Linked DNA regions of Homo sapiens: region 2 is linked to region 1. The links are contacts of gene promoters, found by promoter capture Hi-C in human tissues and cell types (Jung and others, 2019). All regions are on one chromosome and are shown on one strand. Each heading gives the region's core, a stretch centred on a gene start or on the middle of the fragment in contact. The rest is flanking DNA. Distances are from core to core; before and after follow the strand shown.

Evidence for each region. The method cuts DNA at HindIII sites, captures the fragments that hold promoters and counts their contacts. A contact is called where the count stands out against the background at its distance.
Region 2: a fragment that was not itself captured here is called in contact with the fragment with the promoter of XPO4 in region 1 in 1 of the 25 tissues and cell types used here (aorta).

The regions. Positions count from the first base shown.
Region 1 is chr13:20,900,397-20,905,288 of GRCh38, reverse strand. XPO4 (exportin 4) reads left to right here and starts at 2,543. Exons shown (of 23, transcript NM_022459.5): 1 at 2,543-2,619. The coding sequence starts at 2,551. RefSeq lists a silencer at 2,141-2,520 and an enhancer at 2,731-2,780. The HindIII fragment of the contact is 40,685 bases long and covers 1-4,892 here.
Region 2 is chr13:21,303,827-21,308,718 of GRCh38, reverse strand. The region is part of intron 2 of LINC00539 (long intergenic non-protein coding RNA 539); the gene reads left to right. It also overlaps the pseudogene MIPEPP3. Among named protein-coding and RNA genes, the nearest start is that of LINC00539, 39 kb to the left of the region's middle. The HindIII fragment of the contact is 3,239 bases long and covers 560-3,798 here.

The DNA of each region.
Region 1 (4,892 bases), core at 1,294-3,793:
TGCACAAAATAAATACTTTGGAACCCAAGGCCCAATCTGAAGCATTATAAGCCTCAAACATTTACTGTCACAAACTGTTTATCTACATATTTGCACAATATCATTGATCTTTGGTAATTACTCTTTGCAGCAACTAGAATCATTTTGTAATTTTCTTGTAGATTGCTATACTTGGTCAAATATTTACTGAGTGCCTACTATATGTCAGGCCCTATGATAAACACTTAGTTACTAAAAAGGACCATTAACTGCATTTTGGCTCACTTTAAACTTCAGTAATAAAATAAAACTTACTTAGTTTCTCAAGCAATACAAACCTTGTTAATTCATTTTCTCTACTTCAAGTTGCAGAGACTTCAAGTACAAGAAACAACATATTTTCCAACGGAGCTAATAATGCAGTTCCGTGTGGCCGGGCACAGTGGCTCATGCCTGTAATCCCAGCATTTTGGGAGGCTGAGGCAGCGGATCGCCTAAGGTCAGGAGTTCAAGACCAGCCTGGCTAACATGGTGAAACCCCGTCTCTGCTAAAAATACAAAAATTAGCCAGGTGTAGTGGTGCACACCTGTAATCCCAGCTACTCTGGAGGCTGAAGCACGAGAATCGTTTGAACCCAGGAGGCAGAGGTTGCAGTGAGCTGAGATGGCACCATGGCACTCCAGCCTGGGTGACAGAGAGAGACTCCATAACACACACACACACACACACACACACACACACACACACACACACACACACAGACATTCTGTTGCAGTGACATAAAACCTCAACAGTATGGCTTTCTTATAACTAGGAATAAGAAACAGGAAGATTTCAACAAAAAATAAACTTAAAAATACTGAAACGAATTTGACTGTCTGTGTTGTTTCAGAAGGCTGAATAAGCACCAAAAAGAAGTTATAGGAATGTAGACCGTAGATGTCAGCTCAAAACGAAACAAACCCCTGATCCGAACAACCTAACAGCACTGGTTTGAATACTGAAACAGCTGTCAGGACCACTTGCGTGGAATGTCCTAGAGGCAACTGGAGCACCGGAGGGAAGGTTAATTACTTGATACTCTAATATGCCTTTCAACACGGATTCCACAAACACGACAATGCTGATTTTTGTCCTTTTTTTTTTTTTTCCTGAGACAGGATCAGCCTCTCACCCAGGCTGGAGTGCCGTGGTGTGATCTCGCCCCACTGCACTCTCGACCTCCTGGGCAATCCTTCCGCTTCAGCCTCCCGAGAAGCTCGGACCACAGGCGCAAGACACCACACCGGGCTTTTTTTTTTTTTTTTTTTGGTAGAGACAGGGTCTCACGATGTTGCCCAGGCTGGTCTCGAACTCCTGAGCTAAAATGAGGCCTGCCTTGGCCTCCCAAAGTGCTGGGATTACAGGCATGAGCCACAGCGCCTGGCCGACAAAGCTCATCTTACTGCATTTGAGAAGCCAGGTAGTCAAGGTCAGGCTTTCCTGTCCCTGCTTTCTCCCTCTCCTATGTGAGCCAGCCCTTAAAGAGTGAAAACGGCAAGAGCCAAAGACGGGTTTTCCTCCTAGGGTCTCCTAGCGACCCGCTGCCCAGATACATTTGGATGATTGTCCTGCAGAAGGCCAAAGCCCTCCATTATGAAAACGAAGCGTTCGGCCGGGGGCGGTGGCTCACGCCTGTAATCCCAGAACTTTGGGAGACCGAGGCGGGCGGATCACCTGAGGTCAGGAGTTCGAGACCAGCCTGGCCAACATGGTGAAACTTCGTCTCTACTAAAAGTACAAAAATTAGCCGGGCGTGGTGGCGGGCGCCTGTAATCCCAGATACTCAGGAGGCTGAGGCAGGGGAATCGCTTGAACCCGGGAGACGGAGGTTGCAGTGAGCCGAAATAGGGCCATTGCACTCCATCCTGGGCGATAGAGTGAGACCCTGTCTCCAAAAAAAAAAAAAAAGAAAGAAAGAAAACGAAGCGTTCTATCCTGGAATGTTCTCCCATGGCAAGAAGGAACAGAGAAGCAGGAGACAGAGATACTTTGAAAGGAGGTGCGCTCTGAGGAGGGGAAAGCGGGAAGAGCGATTCCAAGTTTAGGAAATCCTGCACGGCGCTGGAGCGTGGAAGGGCAAGGAGGAGCCAGGGGAGGCGGTGTGCAGGGCTGAGAACGGAGGGAGCGAACTGGCGTCGTGGATCTGCGGGTCCCCGGGCGGGCTGTACTAGGGTAGTGGGGAGAGGGCCGGGGGCACCGCGAGGCCGGGGCGCCGGACACCACGCATGCGCGGGGCTGGGAGCTTAGCGGGGCGCGCGGCTGCAGCAGTCTGGGCAGACCGCCTCGGCCTCGCCCGGTGCCGGCTGCGGCCGCCCCCGCCCCAGCGCGGCGGCCGGGCTCACACTAGTCCCCTCCCAGCCACCCGGAACCCGGCAGCCCGGCCAGACCCGCCGAGGCCGCGACGCCGGTGTCGACAGCGGCTGCGACGGCCCTGGGAGCGCGTGAGGCTCCGGGGTCGCGGCGGCGATTGGCCGGCCGCGGCGCCCGCTCCCAGAATGCAGCGCATGGCGCGTCATTGAAGAGAGACCATGATGGCGGCGGCGCTGGGGCCCCCAGAAGTGATCGCTCAGCTGGAGAACGCGGCTAAAGTTCTGATGGTGAGGACGCCGCGCCCCTCAGACCCCGGGATTCGCGGGCCCCCGGTCGGCCCTGCCACTCCAGGCCTTGCTGCTCGCTGGGCTGGCGACTGGCAAGGGCCTGCAGGGAGCCTGGAAGTGGAGGAGGAGGTGGCGGTGGCGTGGCGCAGGATTCTTCAGCCTACTTTCCTCCTGCCGTCGTCCCCTCCTTCCAGGAGCTGTCCCCTTCCCCTGGCTGCCCAGCACCCCAGTCGGGCGTGGGAATATAGTGGTGTAGCAAAGAGAATTTCTTCACCTTACACCCTGCCCCACAGACTGGGTCGCAGAGCAAGGCGCCGGGAAGGAGTTGGGGTTATCCCCGCAGGGCTTCGGTAGGGGAAATTTGTAGGGCTGTGTGAGCGCTCTTGGGGAGTTGGTGTCGGGAGGGATTGGATGGCACAGCCTGGGTGCTGTTAGCAACCCTTGTTTCCTGTGCATTCGCATCCTCTAGCGCTTCCCTGACATGCAGCCACCTCTGGAGTAATTGCAGCCGGCAGCACGTGGAAGGGCCGGGCCGGCTGGAGGGAGGGAGGGGAATCGTTGAGACCAAGGTCATTGGGGCAAAACTTGGTCTAGTGCTAAGCTCCTTAAAGCTCCCGCGATTTGGAGAACTGAGTCTATGCTACTCTTTGACTTCATGCTTACACTACAATAAGCAGTTTGATGAGATTGTTTACTAAGGGAATTTGAGAAGGCCGAGTCAAAGGATAAAAGTATTACATGCAAGGAGGAGAAGTAAGGATAAACTACGTTCAGTTAGTAAACAGTGTTTCTATTTGCTGGCTCAGCTTTGTTTTTGCAAATTATGACTTCGGTGTTTGTAGATGTTTTGGGAAGTTAGAGGTTCATTTGATACCTGGATTGATTCAGACTTTCTAAGAATTGGATACAGCCAGCTTTGTTACCTTTTTGGACTTTTTTCCTTTTGGTTTGGTGTTAGGGTGTTTGAGCATCACATTTGAGAATATTCGAACTAATTCTAGCGTAGTTTGTAGTTCTAATATTTTACACCAGATATTTTTGTTTCTTTAGAAATCGAGAAGTCTAATAAAAGCAGGATTTACTTGCTTCATTATGAATATTAACTTAATGTACGTTTTGTCACAAAACAGACTAGTGAAGGTTTTCACACTTTTGCAAATTAAGCAGAAGTAACTAGCTAGTATTCCCCTTAATAAAAGATTCTTAAAAATCCCTGACATAGAGCGTTTTGTAAAATTCCTGAAATTTTCCTAGGAGCTAGGGGCTCCGTTTTCATTGGATTCTGGAAGGAGTATGCCACCCAAAACACGGCTGTAGTTCTTACACTGATCAGGTAAAATCAGTGTCCTTCGTCACTGGCTTAATATAAACTAGTATTTGTGTTTTCCAATATCTTCCCTCTTCCCTGGCAAAGCTGCTTTTATCCCCTATAAGGAGTAGGTGAGAAGAATAGTAGTAAGTACCGTTTATTGAGTGCTAGATATTGGGCTTGATGCTTTACATACTTTACATATTTTATTAATTCTTGCAACAGCTTTGCTTTACAAGGTTGAGAAACTGTAAGTGGCCCGGGTTACACGATTACTAAATGGCTGAATTAGGTCTTGAACTCAGTTCTGTCTGGCTCTAAAGCTGTGTGTCTTTCCACTCTACCCCATCTGTCATATGTTGTATAAATAATTTGTCTAAATGCTTTTTATCTTTTCAGAGGAGAGTAGTATTGAAAAAAGTGTCATGTTATTAAAAACAGGAAATTACAGCCGGGTGCGGTGGCTCATTCCTGTAATCCCAGCACTTTGGGAGGCCGAGGTGGGCGGATCACTAAAGATTAGGAGCCCAAGACCAGGCTGGCCAACACGGTGAAGCCCCATCTCTACTAAAAATATAAAAATTAGCCGGGCGTGATGGCTGGCACCTTTAATCTCAGCTACTCTGGAGGCGAAGACAGGAGAATCGCTTGAACCAGGAGGCAGAGGTTGGAGTGAGCCGAGATCGTGCTGCTGCACTCCAGTCTGGGCGACAGAGTGAGACTTCATCTCAAAAAAAAAAAAAGGAAATGACTTTTTGGAAATTTCCACTTAAGTATTCAGAAATTTGTACCAAAGATGTGTAGAGTAGTTATTGTATTATTTCTTAATATGAAAGCTATATTCCAAATTATTAATAGCTACCATTTATTGAGTACATACTATGTTGGAGGCGCTGTGCCAAGCCCTTTACATATATTACTTTTTATCTCCAGTAACTCTGTGAGGTAGGTATTATTACTTTCA
Region 2 (4,892 bases), core at 930-3,429, 400 kb before region 1:
TGTTTCTAGTATTATTTGGCAGAGTATAAAAGTCCCTGGACTTAGAATTGGAAGGCTTGGCCTCAAATCCACACCCTTCCTGGTACCAGCCCAGTGCCCCTGGGCAATCACTCAACCCATCTCCTTCACTGGCGGTTGTGGCAGCCCTTCTCAAGCAGCGTTGAGAGACCTTAGCTCCCTAACCCAGTGGTTCTCCAACTAGCGAGTGCTCAGAATCACCTGGAGCGTTGGTTAAAACAGCACTGGGACCAGTCCCGAGTACTCCTGGAATACAGCCTGAGAATTTGCCTTTCCAGCAAGTCCCCAGCCTGGCTGAATGCCATTCCCAGCCCACCCACCCCTGGCTCCACTTTCTCTTGTACTAGCTGATATCGGAAATTCCACCGAGAGCCCCAACCCAATTTAGCTGGGAAGCTTTACTCTTATTAAAAGGTACATACACGAAACAATATTAGCAGTTAGACTGTATCTTTCACGTCTTATCCTTCTTTATCATTCCCGTGTCTCCCTTGCTGTATTGCGTGCACAAGTTCACACGTTTGAGGAACGAAACTTCAAACATAGTCTGTACCAAGAGGCTTTACTCTTTTCTTTTTCCTCTCTACCCCTTTCCCCTAGAGCTTGGTCAAGATGTCCTAATGGTCTAAAATGTCAAAAGAAAACTAGATGAGGAAAAAGTAATAGAAAATAACTCTATTATAAGCTTCCTTATAGTTCAGATTCATCTCTTTCTTGTAAGAACCACCCACCAGTTCCTACTCAGAGACTCAAGGATACTCCTGTTCCTCAGTTGGTTCAAGATAAAAACACTGAAGATTTACATCAATCGAAGGGTTTCTGTTACCATTCACATGGGCCTTCCCGAATGCTAGTGAAACGTAGATAGTCATTACCCATCAAAAAACACTCACCAAGAAGGGCCAGACTCCCACACATGGATCCCAGAAGTCAGGGAGAGAGTGAGTGTGGAGGCCTACCTCCTCCCAACCTGCTCACCCACGGAGCCACTCCATGGCAAAGGAACAGTAGCTCAGAGGCTGCCCGCACTGCCCCCACTGCAGAGGTTTAAGGAAATCTCCCAGTAGTATGTTTTATGTTGGAAGACCCTGAGATAAAGCCCATACTTCAGTCTGTATTTGTCCTCCCACAAAATGAAGAGTGCTTGTCCATGAGACCAGCCCACGTCTAATTCGGCAGGACACAGCATGCAGAGAGCCTCGAGCAGGCAGCCCACTGCTGACTCCTTCCCAGGGGCCTTTCCCCGAGAGGCAAAGCTTTCTCCCAGGGAGTCCCCACTTTCAGCCCTGTCAGCATGCCCAGTGTCTGCACTCTGCAGGGCCCCGTTCTGTCCCATTACGCAAGTTGGTTTTCAGCGGCTATGGGGAAAGTCACACACGATTGTGCCAAAGTGAACAAATGTTGGCGACCTGGGGAAAAGCAGCAGCTGCACATCCTGAAGCGTTGGGTCTTCCAAGGAAGCCTCGTCTAACCAGAGAAGCCATCACTCTCCTCCTCCAACAATTTCTGGCATATGAAATTGTCTTATCGTGTTACCCCCTTTTCCCTGTTGTAAATCCACGCTGGCGAGCCCAGGGCTCTCCCTAGCTCTATACACTGCCTGGCATGGTGCCATGCAGCTAAGTGTGTTGGAATACAGCGCTGTCCACCATTCAGTTATTTTAACAAGCACTATGGAGCTCTTATAAGTGGCTTAAAAACACTCACATTTACCCCAAAATCACTTTAAAATAATTCACTCCATCACAGCCTCAGCCAGAGCCTGCTCCAGCTCTCCCACAGACTTTCACAGCCTCCCTAGACTCCCCTAATTCCAACTCAACAGGGACCACAAGGACACTGTTTATAGAGCGTTTTGGCTTCTCGCCCCGTGGCCCACAGCCATTGATGCAACAGCAATTTAATCAAGCGATAATCTAGTAAGTCCAACTTGCCACTAGGACACTAAAAAGCCCTTATTTAAGGTAAGTGATAATGGTGATGACAAGAATCCTGGGTGTCTGTCATCTCAGATTATCAAGTGACACCTTTACATTGATCTCATTTAACACTCACAAGGACCCTGAGGCAGGGTTAACTTTATGACCCCATTTACAGAGAAGGAAATGACTGAGAGAACAGACAACCAGCCCTGAGGCCCAGTGCCTGCCTGCAAGGTGAGCCAATGGCCTGTCCTGAGACCTCCCTCCGGCCACCCCTGGTCACACACACCTCCCACCCTGCTGGGCGGGGGACAAGCACTATGGACAAAACTGCCTACGGCACAAGTCCATGAAACCGGATCACCCAGGACTTGGCACGGAGGTGGGGAGGGGAACAGCACATACTTCTCTACCATGGTGCCAATACTTCTACAAGCTTCTTCTGCGACTTCCCTGAATGCTGGCTCAGGGTGAGCGATTTTCACAAAATCAGCCTAATAAAGGGGAAAGACGAAACCAAAAGGGAATTTGATGGGAAGCTTTCTTCCAGGATCTGGGGGTGAAAATGAAAACTGGGTTTTAAGATGTGCCATTGGCTTGGCCTATGCATTTCCATTACTGACTTTTTCCTAAGCGAGTAAAGCAAAGCAGCTGCTTTCTGAACATTTATTTAATTCTGTTATTCCTTGAAACCAAGTTTGTTTCTTTCCAAAAAAAATAATTTTATTAACTTTGTTTCAGAAAAGTTTTTCTCCTTCAAATATAAACACCAAGCAAATTCTTCCTAACCCTTTATTAAATCAAAAGAGCAGACACTGGTTTCAAATATTCTACAACTTTCTGGCTAAAATTCTTTGCAGTATGGTTCTCACAGGTTAACCTAGCTCCAAAAAACAACTCTTAGAGGCTTGTTTTCTTTAACTGACACATAGTATAGTTTCAAAACTCATTTAACTACACTTTAGTCTTTAACTACATTCTAGTCTTTGTGCAGAAAACAAAGGCACAGTCTCTTTAGTCCTTTTAATAAAATATGAGTTCAGTCTCCATGTAATACTGTGTACAACTACTACTGCTGCTGCTACTTAAGTCATTAGAAATTAAAATGAGCAACAATTTTTTTAAAAAGATAAAATGATGTAAAACTAAATTTTCGTTTTCATGTCAATTGTAACAAAAAGCAGAGAAACTACAAAACACTACATATTTTATTTGCCAAGAAGATGTGTGACTATAACATGAAATAAAATCACCACAAGGTAAAATTTCCTGATTTTATTATCAAATAGTTTTTAATGCCAAAACATTTAAATCCATAGTTTGGTATATTTGTTGTAAGAATTGGTAACGATAAAATAACATTAGTACCAAAGTATCTGAAAAATGAGTTACATAAATTTACATTTTTTTTTTTACAAATTACTAATCTACATGTGAATTTATAATCAATATTAAAATTCAAAACACTAGCATGCACATTAACAACTGATTTCTAATAGTGATGAGGAAAACAGTTCTGTTACGTAAAAACTGTGTTGAAAACAAAGAAAACAAAATGACTATTTAGTGAAAAAGTTTATAAGACGATTGCCTTATAATAGTACCAACATTACTGGTAGGTAACATCTCAAAAATTCAAAAAGGAGAAAGGTTCTTTTTTACCCGGAGAACTACATATATAAATCACATAGTTTTTTTTTTTTTTTAAGTTTTCAAAATGAGATATTATACATAATATTAAAAATGTCAAAATAAGATAAGATACAGGGCAGAAAAGTTAAAATATTTTAGTGAAGACCACAAGCAAAAATGTAGAAAAAAATCCTAGAATACTGATTAAGATGAAGACTAAGACAACAAATACACAGTGAATTCTGGGATTTGTGACAGCCATGCCAACAGTCACCCCTCAGTATCAGTGGGCAATGGTTAGATCTTCCTACAGATACCCAAATCCACAGATGCTCAAGTCTCTGATATAAAATGGTGTAGTACTTGCATATAACTGACGCACAGCACACTCCATACATCAAATCATATAACTGACACACAGCACAACCCTTACACTGAATCATCTCTAGATTACTTGTAATACCTAATGAATGTAAATAATATGTAAATAGCTGTTACACTGTATTATTTCATGCAACAGCGACAAGGAAAAAAGTCTGTATGTGTTCAGTACCGATGCAATTTTTTTTTCCAGATATTTTTGATCCAAGGTTGGTTGACTCTACAGATGCCCGAATCTGGAGGGGTTGACTGTACTTGAATAGTGAAATTCACTGACACAGATTTTCCTTTTCTGATTTCTGTGACACAATCAGGTGAACAGGGTATGAAACCTCCTTTTGGCAGTGCGTTCCACAGCTCCCCCATCATTCAAAGACACATTTCCTATGCACATACGGGAGGCACAGAACAAAAACCCAGCACAACAGAACTACCCAGAGCCTGCAACTTCACTCCAGAGAAAAACCCTTTACAATAAGATACTTTATCAGTTTCCTTAAGAGCGGGAGGCTTGTGGTGAACATATAATCATCTGAAAGGTGTTAATGCTCAAATCAGGTGTATGGGTGGAAGGAAATTTTCCAAAAAAGGAAAAAAAATAAAGATGGGGATGAGTTATGCTGGGTGAAAGAAGTCAGTCAAAGGTATACAGGATTCCACCTATGTGACATTCTAGAAAAGGCAAAGCTATAGGGAGAGAGAACAGATTAGTGGTTGCCAGAGGTTAGTCGGGGGGGGGTGTGGCTATACAGGGAGATTTTTGGGGGTGGATGGAACAGCTTTGTATCCTGATTGTGGTGAGGGCTGCACAAATTTATACGAGTTAAAATTCATAGAACTGTACCATCCTCCAAAAGAAGTCAATTTTACTGTATAATAATTTTAAAAACAAGTATACATTTTTTTTAAAGATGGAGAGGCTAACAAACTTTGCAACCT